Regions from separate parts of the Homo sapiens genome. Here regions 1, 2 and 3 are each linked to region 4. Evidence: promoter capture Hi-C in 16 types of primary human blood cells and fetal thymus (Javierre and others, 2016). All regions are on one chromosome and are shown on one strand. The core of a region is centred on a gene start or on the middle of the fragment in contact, and the rest is flanking DNA. Distances in the headings are between cores, read along the strand shown. Region 1 overlaps ZNF142 (zinc finger protein 142). Region 2 overlaps STK36 (serine/threonine kinase 36). Region 3 overlaps USP37 (ubiquitin specific peptidase 37). Region 4 holds the start of USP37 (ubiquitin specific peptidase 37).

Region 1 (3,520 bases), core at 220-2,719, 83 kb after region 4:
CAGAAAACAAACCCCAGAGCCTCAATGGCAGGGTTTCAACAATCCATTCTTCCCCACCACCAAGGGCTTCAAGCCTCAGAATGTCATTACCTTCCAGCCGCTGAGCCCCTTGGCCTTTATCCACAGCCTTTTGGGAGTCCTTCTGGGTGTCACTCTTCTCTTCTTTCTCTACATTCTCCTCTTCAGCTGTCTCCTGCCCAGGCAAGGGTGTACCTGCTTCCTGTGAAGGTTCTCTCTCTCCTGGAGGCAGTTTGGGAGCTGGAGATACATAAAACTTGATAAAGTCTACAGGAGCCAATAACAGCACTAAATGCTTATACTTCTCTACCTACTGGCTGAAATAATCACCCTCTCCCACTTTTAGCATAAGGAGATCTTGGGTTTTATGTATAAATGTATTTCCACTCAAGATGAAAATAGGAGGACGAAGAGCTAAGTTATTAGCAATGTTCCAGTCTAAAGTAACTCAAACCTCAGAGAGCACCACTTTCAGACTCCATGAAGCTGACAGCAGCGAGGTCATTGAGGTCATAGGGGGCTGAAAGTAGAGAATGGGTAGACTGCAATTCCTTCTCTTATCAGAATTCTGGCCTCTCCTGGCCCGTTTTCTCTGTTTCCTCCTGCTCCTCTGCTCTCTCATGCTTTTTTGGGACCAAGAAGAATGACAACTACTAAAACGCCGTCTCCCTTGAAAGTTCCTAAGTTCCTTTCTTTACTTCTTTTTTTTTTTTTTTTTGAGACAGGGTCTTACTCTGTCATCCAGACTGAAGTGCAGTGCTGCAATCTTGGCTCACTGCAACCTCCACCTCCTGAGCTCAAGTGATCCCCCACCTCAACCTCCCGAGTAACTGGGACTACAGACATGTACCACCACACCCAATTTTTGTATTTTTTGTAGAGACAGCATTTCACCACATTGCCCAGGCTGGTCTTGAACTCCTGGGCTCAAGGGATCCATCCACCTTGGCCTCTCAAATTGTTGGGATCACAGGCATGTGCCACAGTGCCCAGCCCAAAGGGTTATTTCCTTTTTAAAATAACCCTGGCTTCTACTGCCCAATCCCCAGTTGCTCTAAAGGAAAGTCTACAGGCATTCTATCAGTGGCCATAGCCAATGATGGTCATTTTCACTTTAGCTCTCAGAAAGTTGTGAAATGGATCATTAGAGAATATTGGTTAAGTAACTTCAGGCCACACGTAGCCTAAGCCAACTTTCACTCATTGTCACAAACAAAGACTTCCTCTTTGTCCCATATATTCCAACTGTTTCAAGATGCCTTCCCATGTCATCCAGTAACTCCATCCTCCTGAGCCACTGTCTAGATTCTCTTATATTCATGTACATTCATGGCCTTGGAAACAACTGCCTCTCCTATAAGATCAACTGTGGCTGAACTCCAGGAGAGGAACTGCTTGGCCCTTGGCCTCATACCTGGCAGCAGCTCCTGGGATGGAAGGCCCTGAACGGCAGAAAGTTCTCCCTGTGTCCCAGCACCATGGCTCCGCTGATGCTGCCGGAAGAGTTTGACGTTGGAGCCTATGAAGCTGCAGTGGCTGCAGTGGAAAGGGTAATGCGCCTGCCGGTGCAGCTCCATGCCCTGCTGGCTCCCGAAAAGCAGGGGGCAGCCCCGGAAAGAACAGGGCACAGGAACTGCTCTGTGAGTCTGCCTCAGGTGGTGCTGCAGACCCTTGCGATCTTCAGCAGAGAACACACAGCCAGATTCTGGGCAGGAGAAGGTGTCAGGAGTGCCCCGGTGAATCTTGAAGTGGCTCTTCAGGGCCTGGGGTTGGGCAAACTCCTGTCTACACACAGGGCATGATAGGGGGCTAACTGGCGGGCTCTGGCCCTGCAGAGGGCCAGGGAGGGTTGGGTTGCTGGGAGGCAGCTCTACAGAGCATGGGGGGCTAGAGAGGCCCTGCACAGGCTGTATATGGGTCTCACTGCACTGGTGCAGGGCCAGCAGAGTGGGCTCTGCGAAGCTCTGTTCACAGCGCTCACAGAAGTACACCTCCACCACCTTTACCAGGACACCTGCAGGCAGAGGACCGACAGAGAAAGGCATAGAATCAGATGGAACAAGACTCATAGGAGTTAGTTACTAGTAGAAAATGTAGGTGAATCTTTTAATATTCGTAGAGTACAGATGGACTTTAAGTCTGGTCCTACACCTGGACTGTAGGCCCCATAAGGTCAGGGACCATCTATCTGGCACGTGTGTTTGGATTCCTAGCACAATACTTGGCACAAGATAGGTGCTTAATAAATATTTGTTAAATGAGTGAACAAGCAAGCAAATCCAGAAAGCATTAAGACAGTATATTTTGCCCAAGTGAAAACCAGAAACTTCCAAAAGAAAATGACAAACTAGGGATAATATCTGCAATATAAATGGTTAAGAGCTTTACTTTCAAATTCTGTAAAGAGCTTTACAAAGGCACAGGAATGGATAAAATGGAGAATATCCTTCTGAAAATAATTATTATTCTCCATAATAATTGCTGCCGTTTTAAAAGCAATGGGCAAGACTTTGATAAAGAAAGGCTTAATAAACGCTCTCATTTGGTCCTCCAACAGCCCTATGACAACAAGGTCCTGAGATTCTACGAGATTAAGACTACTATGTTTATTAGTGGTAGAGCCATGACTCAAGGCCAGGTTTGTCCTACATTTATTCTGCTGGTCTGTTTGCTCTTTATTGTTTTTTTTGTTGTTAAAAAAAAAAATTTCAGGGCCAGGTGCAGTGGCTCACGCCTGTAATCTTGGCACTTTGGGAGGCTGAGACAGGAGGATCATGAGGTCAGGAGATCGAGACCATCCTGGCTAACATGGTGAAAACCCGTCTCTACTAAAAATACAAAAAATTAGCCAGGCGTGGTGGCACGCACCTGTAGTCCCAGCTACTCAGGAGGCTGAGGCAGGAGAATCGCTTGAACATGAGAGGTGGAGGTTGCAGTGAGCCGAGATTGCCCACTGCACTCCAGCCTGGCCAAGAGAGAGACTCTGTCTCAAAAAAAAAAAAAATTTCAGGCCGGGCCTAGTGGCTCACACCTGTAATCCCAGCATTTTGGAAGGACGAGGTGGGTGGATCACCTGAGGTTGGGAGTTTGAGACCAGCCTGACCAACATGGCGAAACCCCGTCTCTACTAAAAATACAAAATTAGCTGGGCATGGTGGCGCATGCCTGTAATCCCAGTTACTCAGGAGGCTGAGGCAGGAGAATCGCTTGAACCTGGGAGGTGGGTTGCAGCGAGCCAAGATCACGCCATTGCACTGCAGCCTGGGTGACAAGAGTGAAACTCTATCTCAAAAAAAAAAAAAAATTTCAGTGCAACATCTAAAATGATACATAAGTATACAAAGGAAGAATAACCACCCAGCACCTTCACACGCACAATTTGGTGTGTTTCTTTTTGACCCTTTTCTTTCCACTTGCTATATATCAAAGATATTTTTATCTTTGAGTACATTTACATCTAGTTTGTACTTTCTTATCCAGTTCATGTTTTTTCCAGAGCATG
Region 2 (3,220 bases), core at 228-2,727, 110 kb after region 4:
TTCTCCTAAATCTCATCTTGAGTGCTGGTCAAATCAGAACACTTCTTCCAGAAGGGGAAATGTTTTGCAGATGCTGTTTCCTCCTGGGATGAGGAATGGGGAAAGCCTGGATAAGGCCAGGGTACCATGGAGAAAATGGAAGCGGGAGACTAACAGAAATAATAAGAGTTACTCAAACACTCTAAAATCTGACTTCTGGAGCTCTGAGATTAAGGCTGAAATTCTAGATCTTTTCAGTAGTGTGATTAGGCGTTAACTTTTCACCTTACCACTGACAGGTCGTGGCCCTGAAGTTCATCCCAAAATTGGGGCGCTCAGAGAAGGAGCTGAGGAATTTGCAACGAGAGATTGAAATAATGCGGGGTCTGCGGCATCCCAACATTGTGCATATGCTTGACAGCTTTGAAACTGATAAAGAGGTGTGCTTTGACAGTTTTGGGCCCTGTCTCCCCAAGCACAAGGGTTCCAGGAATTTCCCAACCTCAGAATGCATGAATCTGGAGCCATCAGTGCCACTGCCTTCTCTCTGTAGGTGGTGGTGGTGACAGACTATGCTGAGGGAGAGCTCTTTCAGATCCTAGAAGATGACGGAAAACTTCCTGAAGACCAGGTATGCTTTCTGCCTTCAACTTCTCCCCACCTCCGACCTCTCTCCAGGTTAGAGAACTGGTAGAGCAAGCTAAGGACACTGAGAGTCTCCATTTCAAAGACTTCTGAGAAGAATATAAGAGTCTAGGTATATAGAGGCAGTGTAGTGTGGGAGTAAATTATGTAAACGTTGGAGTCAAAATATCTGAGCAGGAAGCTTGGCTCTGCTCCTTCCTAGCTGGGTCTCATTGGACAAGTTACTTTAATTTCTTTGTGCTTAGTTTCCTAATTTGTAAAATGGAGATAATAATCATGTTTGCCTGATAAGTCTATGATGAAGAGTGTTAAGTCATGTAATGTGTTTGAATAGTTAGCTATTATTAACATTATTGTTATTAGATACCTTTAGGGAAGAAGGGCCAGTGTAATGGTACCAGAAAGAGGGCAGTAAGAATAAAGGTTGTGGGGAGTCAGGATTTGGCACCAGGACGTAGTGGTTAGCAGTGGGATTTTGTTGCACATATCCTCCAGCCACATTTATTCTAGGCGTTTGTCTGTACCCAAGCAAGTAGGCCCCCCCTGGGATTCATTATTGCAGCATTCTCTTTCCTTCTGAGCACTCACCACTATTTGTAAGTAATCATATTTTTGAAATTATTTTATTTTTAATTGAATTTTATTTTTTGAGACAGAGTCTCGCTTTGTTGCCCAGGCTGGAGTGCAGTGGCACAATCTTGGCTCACAGCAAACTCCGCCTTCCAGGTTCAAGCAATTCTCGTGCCTCAGCCTCCCCAGTAACCAGGATTATAGCATGCGCCACCATGCCTAGCTAATTTTGTACTTTTAGTAGAGATGGGGTTTCACCATGCTGGCCAGGCTGGTCTCGAACTGCTGGCCTCAGGTGATCTGCCCGCCTCAGCCTCCCAAAGTGCTGGTATTACAGGTGTGAGCCACCACGCCCGACCACCATATTTGTTTTATCTGTCTTGTTTGTTTGTCTGACTACTTTTCTTGAAAAAAGGCATTTTGTCTTATTTAATAACAGGTAATGTGTATTGAATATTTACTATGTGCCAGGCACCATTCTGAGTATTATTTTGCATGCTTTAACTCAGTCCTCACAATAATCCTCCATGTAGATGGTGTTATTATATAGATTGTCACCTTAGTTTGCCCATGGTCAAGCAGATAGTAAATGAGATTCAATAAATTTTTCTTGAATGAATGAATGAGCAAATGAAAGAGTGATTAAACAAGGGGAACAATAACTAAGAAAGAATAGTGTGAAGCTCTGCAAGAAAGGGAAGGAAGAAAAGATTAGCAGTAATATTAAGAGAAATTTTTGGGCTTGTCAGCCAGCTGCTGTTTCTAACCTTTTTTTTCTTTCTTCCACCTCTTTAATTTCTAGGTTCAGGCCATTGCTGCCCAGTTGGTGTCAGCCCTGTACTATCTGCATTCCCACCGCATCCTACACCGAGATATGAAGCCTCAGAACATCCTCCTCGCCAAGGGTGGTGGCATCAAGCTCTGTGACTTTGGGTAAAGATTCTGAGCATCCATCTAAGCTTCCAGTTCCACACGGAATCTTTTTTTTTTTTTTTTTTTTTGAGATGGAGTTTCACTCTTGTTACCCAGGCTGAAGTGCAATGGTGCGATCTCCACTCACCACAACCTCTGCCTCCCGGATTCAAGCAATTCTACTGCCTCAGCCTCCAGAGTAGCTGGGATTACAGGCATGTGCCACCATGCCTGGCTAATTTTATATTTTTAGTAGAGATGGGGTTTCTCCATGTTGGTCAGGCTGGTCTCGAACTCCTGACCTCAGGTGATCTGCCCACCTCGGCCTCCCAAAGTGCTGGGATTACAGGCATGAGCCACTGAGCCTGGCCCCACAGGGAATCTTAGACCATACTCTTGACTTATTTGGGCCTCATTTTAGAACCGGAGCTAGAGGCTGGGACTGCTGCTGGGTCTTCTGGAACCTAATCAAAGGTGCTCCCTCTGCTCCGGTTTGGGATATCTCTATGTTAGGTAGTAGTGACCAGGTTTAGAATATCTTTTCCCTTTCCATTTCCATCCCATTATCTTCTGCAGATTTGCCCGGGCTATGAGCACCAATACAATGGTGCTGACATCCATCAAAGGCACACCACTCTATATGTCTCCAGAGCTGGTGGAGGAGCGACCATACGACCACACAGCGGACCTCTGGTCTGTTGGCTGCATACTATATGAACTGGCAGTAGGCACCCCTCCCTTCTATGCTACAAGCATCTTTCAGCTGGTCAGCCTCATTCTCAAGGACCCTGTGCGCTGGCCCTCAACCATCAGTCCCTGCTTTAAGGTAATGAATATTGAAAGGGAGATGACTTTTACATTAGAAATCTGTCTCCCTCTATCTCTGTTCCTTTTTCCAAATCCTTTTCCAGAGCTGAGGCGGGACTTTGCAGTTACTGAATTAATGGCTGTGTTATTCTGTTCTCGCATTGCTATACAGAACCACCTGAGACTGGGTATTTTATAAAGAAAAGAGGTTTAATTGGCTCACAGCTCCATAGCCTGTACAGGAAGGATGGCTGGGGAAGCCTCAGGAAACTTACAATCATGACGGAAAGCAAAGGGGAAACAGGCA
Region 3 (3,428 bases), core at 754-3,253, 110 kb before region 4:
TAGCACCACTGCACTCCAGCCTGGGTGACAGAGTGAGACTCCATCTCAAAAAAATAAACAAAAACGCATTAATTTTATCTCAGGTGCAGGAAGTTTGAGAAAGAAAAAAAGCTACCACATTCACCTTATCCTCAACACTGTGTCTAAAACCCATTGAAGAAACATACAGGCCAGGCACAGTGGCTCACTCCTATAATCCCAGCACTTTGGGAGGCCAAGGCAGGAGGACTGCTTGAGGCCAGGAGTTTGAAACCAGCTTGGGCAACAAAGCAAGAACCCGTCCATACAAAAAATTTAAAAAAATTAGTCAGGTGTGGTGGCATGCACGTGTAGTCGCAGCTACTCAGCAGGCTGAGGGAGGAGGATCTCTTGAGCTCCTGAGCCCAGGAATTCAGTGCTGCAATGAGCTAATGATGGTGCCACTGCACTCCAGCCTGGTGACAGAGTGAGACCCTGTCTCTTGAAAAAAAAAAAAAGAAAAAAGAAGAAAAAAATATTTGTATATACACAGAGAATCAAGGAGGCATATGCTACACTGGTACACCATTTTTGATTAATGTATTTTGTTCAGGGGAATTTAGGTCACTTATGAATTGAGAAATCAAAACAGTTACACCTATTAACACAATGCACATTGAGTGTGATCAAAGTAGATTTCAAAGATTTTCTTGAAAAACTTATACTTCGTGGGCTGGGCATGGTCGCTCACGTCTGTAATCCCAGCACTTTGGGAGGCCAAGGTGGGTGGATCTCTTGATCCCAGGAGTTCAAGACCAGCCTGGCCAATATGGTGAAACCCCATCTCTACTAAAAATGCAAAAATTAGCTGGGCGTGGTGGTGCATGCCTGTAATCCCAGCTACTTGGGAGGCTGAGACAGCAGAATCACTTGGACCCAGGAGGTGGAGGCTGCAGTGAGCCGAGATTGTGCCACTACACTCCATCCTGGGCAACAGAGTGAGACTGGATCTCAAAAAAAAAAAGAAAAAGAAAAAGAAAAACACACTTCACAAAGCTAGGCAAAGAGCAATATAATAAAGAGCAAATGCTGACTAGTTCATTTATAAAATGCTGAAATCATGATGGCTATTCACCTGAAGAAGAAGTGCTACCAATGTGACTGACAACACTGATGAGCCGGTACGAATGAGGCAGATTTCCTGTCTGGAAAACAGAAGTGGGTATAACTTTTAAGTCTTCATTTGAATAAAAGCAAAACACTGAATATAAATTTATTATCAAAGCTGACATGGCTAAGCTTTGGTATGTGGCATAGTAAGAATCAATTAAAAAATCTGTTCATACCCTTTGACCCAAGAATTCCACCCTCAACTAAGAATTTATTCTAAGGAAATAAGTCAAAAGAAGAGTATATGTATCAAATTATTTACTGTGGCATTATCTGGTGAAAAGCTGGAACCAACAATATATCCAATAATAGCTAACTGGTTAGTATATCAATTCAATATAATAATGTTCAGTTATATAAAAAAACTACATGGATCAGGAACATGTTAACCTTTTTTCCAAACCCATATGAATGCACATAGTAACTATAACTCTATTAAAAAAATGTTACGTTAAGAGTTAGGCATTGGACAATAGAACAAAAATGTTAAAAAGAGTTGCTATGTTGCTGTAGGGATCAGAGTGAACTTTTATATTTTAAAAAATATGATTAAAATATTTTTGGTAAAATAAAGCAAAACTGAAAAAGTGATATTCATGCACTGCAGACAGCACTATAAGGTAAAATTTGGGGAAGGAAGGCCAGGCGTGGTGGCTCACGCCTGTAATCCCAGCACTTTGGGAGGCCAAGGTGGGCAGATCACGAGGTCAGGAGATTGAGACCATCCTGCCTAACACAGTGAAACCCTGTCTCTACTAAAAAAACACAAAAAATTAGCTGGCGGGCGCCTGTAGTCCCAGCTGCTCGGGAGGCTGAGGCAGGAGAATGGCATGAATCCAGGAGGTGGAGCTTGCAGTGAGCTGAGATCGGGCCACTGCACTCCAGCCTGGGCGACAGAGCAAGACTCTGTCTCAAAAAAAAAAAAAAAGAAAAGAAAAGAAAAGAAAAAAAAAATTGGGGGAAGGAATATGGCTATATGTAAACCAGAAACTTAAAATGTTCATAAACTTCGATTTAGTAATTTACTTCTGGAGAATATAAAAGGAGAAATTCTAAAATATAGAAAATGCATGAGCCAAGAGCACACGCCACTGCACTCCAGCCTGGGTGACAGACAGACCTTGCCTAAAAAAAAAAAAAAAAAAAAAAACAACTCTATGTTTGGCCAGGTGCAGTGGCTCAGGCCTGTAATCCCCATACTTTGGGAGGCAGAGATGGGTGGATCCCTCAAGGCCAAGAATTTGAGACTGGCCTAGCCAACATGGTGAAATTGCATCTCTACTAAAAATACAAAAATTAGCTGGGCATAGTGGCTCATGCCTGCAATCCCAGCTACTCAGGTGGCTGAGGCACAAGAATCGCTTGAGCCCAGGAAGTGGAGGAAGTTGCAGTGAGCTGAGATCGTGTCACTGCACTCCAGCCTGGGTGACAGAGCGAGACTCTGTCTCAAAAAAATTAAAAAATAAAATAAAATAAAATAAGGAAAATGCTATAAGCATACAGTTTCCCAACTTATTATCATAGTGAAAAATTAAAAACAACTTAGACAAATACTCAATGTTAGCTAAAAGTTAAATAAGTAGGATATTTATTTGAGGCAATATAGTACAGCCATTAAACATAAGCTTATAAATAACTACTCTTTAAGAAACAGGATAACCTGGGTGTGGCAGTGTGTGCCTCTAGTTCCAGCCATTTGGAAGGCTGAGGCAGGAAAATCCCTTGAGCCCAGGAGTCTGAAGCCAGCCTGGGCAACACAGTGAGACTCTGTCTCTAGAACAAAAAAGCAAATGAAATAAAAACTATACTTACGACTTTTTAAAAAGTATACATGGAGGTGAGAATAACAAAGAAATATGTCAAAGTGCTGAGAGTAATTGTGTTAGGATGGTAGGATCCTGGATAATCAAAATTTGAGGAGAAAAAGCAATTATTTAAGGGGGGAAAAAGGGTTAAAAAAAAAAAAACAGTTCAATGTGCCCTAATTAACATCACCAATTCAATAGTTTTCAGTGAGGAACAACCGTTTTTGGTATTTAATTATAAAGATGATACAGTTATTCAGTGTAACTAAAGGTAATTTTTTCCCCCCGAGATGGAGTTTCGCTCTTGTTGCCCAGGCTGGAGTACAATGGCATAATCTTGGCTCACTGCAACCTCCTCCTCTTCCCAGGTTCAGGTGATTCTCCTGCCTCAGCCTCCCAAATAGCTGGGATTACAGGCGTGTGCCACCACGCCCAGCTAATTTTTGCATTTTTAGTAGAGACAGGGTTTCACCATGTTGGTCAGGCTGGTCTCGA
Region 4 (3,337 bases), core at 142-2,641:
CTGTGTTGCATCTGAAACTCCTAAGAAAAAAATCAAGTTGAGATGTCAAGCAGACAGCTGGCTATCTAGATGTGGAGCTGAAAACAAAGGGAATAGGCTGGAAATAACAATTTTTAAGTCATCAATATATAGATCAAATTTAAAGCTTAGGGAGGAATATAAGAGTAAAAGAAGAGGACCTAGGACTGAACCCAAATACTCATTTTACTTCATCAAACATCTTTAAGACAAGTGAGTACTTTTATATCACTGGGTTTTTCAGTCCTCCTTCCATTTTACCTTTCAGCAGAATGCAACACTACTGATGACTTTTTTCATGGCTTGCAAGACGCATCCTCCTCTATTGGTTATTAAACAGCAGGAATTCGTCAATGCTCCATCCTAGGTGCCTTTATTTTACAGCACTATACTCTTTTTCGGCAATTTCATCCACATCCATGGCTTCAATTACTATCAATATGGCAGATGACAAACACATACACACACCGCGCACATTTACGTACGCAGCCCAGAACTCTCCTAAGATCTCCAAACCCACTATATCCAACTGCCTACTTGACATTCCCTCTCAGGTATCTCTTCCAGTTAGACACTTGTCAGGAATTGCCACCTCAATAAAGGAATTTATACAGAGCTGAAATTTTGAGAGGAATACCCCAAAACCACTTTAGGACAACTCTTCAGGACACAGGATTTTATCATCAATCATCATTTCCTTTCATGGATCATGACTTAAAATAGTTACATCTAACAACCTGATCTGGCGGCTAGAAATGGGCGCAAGGAAATGCACAACAAAAATACAATTCATGTTTTGCAGTGAGGACTGGTCAAGAGGAAGGTGAAGATGGTCAAGAGAGTGAATGAGTATCATGTCCAAGGCCTGGTGGATGTGCCGTAACGAAAGTCACCTGAAGAGACAGCAGGCCCTGTTAGAAGGTAAGAGGCGAACGACAACAGCCCCAGAGAAAAGGGGCCAGGTTTGAGTTTCGGAGGGAGCGAGTGGCAGTGGAGACCAAGTCAAAGGAGAGGTGGAAGCCGGGGCAGTGCACCCAAAGGTAGTACCTGTGAGGCTGGGGGTGCATCGAGGGGTTGTGGGCGGGCTGAGTAGCAGCAGGGCGAACTCCAGAGGAGTGAACGCCGAGTGGGCGGATCGCACAGAAGGAGGAGGAGGTAGGGAAAACGGCTCAATTGAGAAGCTACCCCGGCCCGCCTTACCTGCGCCGAGGGTCCGGAGCCCCCGGACAGACCCGCGGAAAGCACGGAGCCCGCGAGGAGTGGGAGGAGCCGAGGGTAATGGAAGTAGGGATACCGAACCCAAAGGAGGGAGGCCGCTAGCTACCCCTAGTCAGGGAGAGCGGCTGATGGCGGGAACTGTGACCACACGCAAACACGCACGCACGCACGCACACTCGACGCGACCAGACAGGCGCGTGCGCGTCAGTCGAAAACTCCGCCCCTCACACGCCCTCGCCCCGCCCCGCCAGTACCTAGAGCGGCCTAGCCCGGGCAGCCCCGCCCCTGCCGTGACTGTAGTAGGCACGCGCACTTTCCACCTCACCCGATTTCGACGCCCCCCCACCATTTCCCTCCTACGCAACCCAGTCGGGCATGCGCAATAGTTGTCTTGCCGGGACTGTCCATCTTTTCCCGCCGTTCACTGGCTTTTGGAGGAGGGTCAGAGTTCACGCCGCTCTCTGGAAATAACTGCTCAAAGCCAGAAGTTGCGGGGACTAGTGGTCGCGGACGTCCTTCCGGTCCTAAATCTTAAGGGGCAAAGGACATACTCTGGGACTGTTAACTAGGCCCTGGAGGCGGGAAGAGGATGTGTGGGTGGGGTCAGGGGTGAGAGGTCAGAGGGCCGCGAAGTGGGCGGAGCGAGCCGGAGTCGGATGGCGGCTACGGCGGCTCATTGTTTTCCGCTGCAGGGGTGCTGAAGGGGGGACGCGGGTCGGACGCGTCCGGCTGTGGAAGAGAGCGGCGGCCGCTCACAACATGCACAGCCTGGCGACGGCTGCGGTGAGTGGCTGGGCCCCCAGGCTTGGAACCAGAATCCTTTCTCAGACCCACGTTTCGGCCTTCTCTCCTAATTCCCGGTGTCGGGTCCCTAGTCTGATTTTTTTCTGCCCTCAATCTCCAAGGCCCCGGTTCCCCTCCTCGGCACGCTTTGGTTGTGGTGGAGCCGGCCCCTATTTCCTTGCCGGACGCCTCTCGCGGCCTTCAGCGCGACCCATCGCGTTCTTTGCGGGCGCCGGGGCCTGGTCCCACGCCCGTAGCAGGCCATTCATTGATTTATTGCGCTGACCAACAGTTTCAGGGCGCCAGTTGTGTTCTGGGCGCCGGCGTCGATGAGGGGAATTCCATGGTCAATCTGACGCGGCCCCTGCTCTTAGAACTCACCACGTCGCAGCGGGAAGGAAATGGCTTCTAGTTCAAACCACTTGCTTTATTTATGGAAAACCTGAGGCCCGGAAAAGTGCATAATTTTTGCATCTGACTTAGGTTCTCTGCATTTAAAACTTTTCCTCGACACATCTCGTTTTACCCGCGTGATCTTTTAACAAAAAAGAAAGATAGTGTAATTCAGCTATCCGAAGTAATCCTACTTCTCTTGGCATTTAAATAAAATCTAGACTCCTTGCCATAGCCTGCACGGCCCTGTATGATGTGGTACTTAACCCACGTTTATAATCTCGTTTTATGTCTCTTGCTCCTAAAGCTTCAGCTACTCTGGCCACCTAACCCTCTGCAACGCGCTTATTTTTCTCCAAGATGCACTTTGTGGTCTCTATGCCTGGAGTGAATGTTCTTCTTATCCCTCCTCCTTTACATACACAGCATGAGTGTAATTGGTACCTCTTCCTTGAACTCTCCTTCCTCTCCTTAAACTGTTTATCCAAATCCATCTTTCTTCAGGTCTCTGCCTAAATCGGTCTCAGAGTGGCCTTCCCTGACTATCCTCTTCAAATTAGTTCCGCAGCCTCTAACTTTAGTAGAGTACCCTTTACAGCCCTGATCCCCGTGTAATTATTGTATTCGTTTATTTGTTGTCTGTCTCCTTGAGGGCAGGGACAGGGATCATGTGAGCCCTGTTGACGTGGTTTCCCCGGTGCCAGGACAGTTCCTAGTACAAGATTAAAGACTCAGATACTTTGCTGCATGAAAGAATATTGAAGGGAAGGTGACCACTGAAAGAACATTGCCATGATGGGGAAAGGAGATCATTTGATTTGAGCATACCTGCCTGAAGACCAATTCTGCTTTTTCTGTTTAACCAAAGGGAAATGATTTAAGGAAAGTAATGTACTGAAATTGTATTATCAGGCAAAATGACGTA

What was found. The method cuts DNA at HindIII sites, captures the fragments that hold promoters and counts their contacts. A CHiCAGO score of 5 or more calls a contact.
Region 1: a fragment that was not itself captured here is called in contact with the fragment with the promoter of USP37 in region 4 in 12 of 17 cell types (endothelial precursors, fetal thymus, naive CD4 T cells and 9 more); the score reaches 14.0 in endothelial precursors.
Region 2: a contact is called between a fragment that was not itself captured here and the fragment with the promoter of USP37 in region 4, in 10 of 17 cell types (naive CD8 T cells, fetal thymus, naive CD4 T cells and 7 more). The highest score is 8.5, in naive CD8 T cells.
Region 3: a fragment that was not itself captured here is called in contact with the fragment with the promoter of USP37 in region 4 in 11 of 17 cell types (endothelial precursors, erythroblasts, naive CD4 T cells and 8 more); the score reaches 8.7 in endothelial precursors.

Annotation. Positions count from the first base shown.
Region 1 is chr2:218,650,269-218,653,788 of GRCh38, forward strand. ZNF142 (zinc finger protein 142) reads right to left here. Exons shown (of 11, transcript NM_001379659.1): 5 at 1,433-2,032; 6 at 91-258. Among named protein-coding and RNA genes, the nearest start is that of ZNF142, 7.6 kb to the right of the region's middle. The HindIII fragment of the contact is 7,287 bases long and covers 1-3,520 here.
Region 2 is chr2:218,673,347-218,676,566 of GRCh38, forward strand. STK36 (serine/threonine kinase 36) reads left to right here. Exons shown (of 27, transcript NM_015690.5): 3 at 279-419; 4 at 533-610; 5 at 1,997-2,127; 6 at 2,683-2,932. Among named protein-coding and RNA genes, the nearest start is that of STK36, 2.9 kb to the left of the region's middle. The HindIII fragment of the contact is 1,348 bases long and covers 804-2,151 here.
Region 3 is chr2:218,455,999-218,459,426 of GRCh38, forward strand. It overlaps USP37 (ubiquitin specific peptidase 37), which reads right to left. Exons shown (of 26, transcript NM_020935.3): 24 at 1,094-1,163. Among named protein-coding and RNA genes, the nearest start is that of VIL1, 39 kb to the left of the region's middle. The HindIII fragment of the contact is 1,496 bases long and covers 1,256-2,751 here.
Region 4 is chr2:218,566,960-218,570,296 of GRCh38, forward strand. It overlaps USP37 (ubiquitin specific peptidase 37), which reads right to left and starts at 1,392. Exons shown (of 26, transcript NM_020935.3): 1 at 1,219-1,392. It overlaps CNOT9 (CCR4-NOT transcription complex subunit 9), which reads left to right and starts at 1,880. Exons shown (of 8, transcript NM_005444.3): 1 at 1,880-2,019. The coding sequence starts at 1,996. RefSeq lists enhancers at 1,235-1,862, 1,863-2,490, 2,285-2,474 and silencers at 1,355-1,424, 1,515-1,574. The HindIII fragment of the contact is 2,574 bases long and covers 144-2,717 here.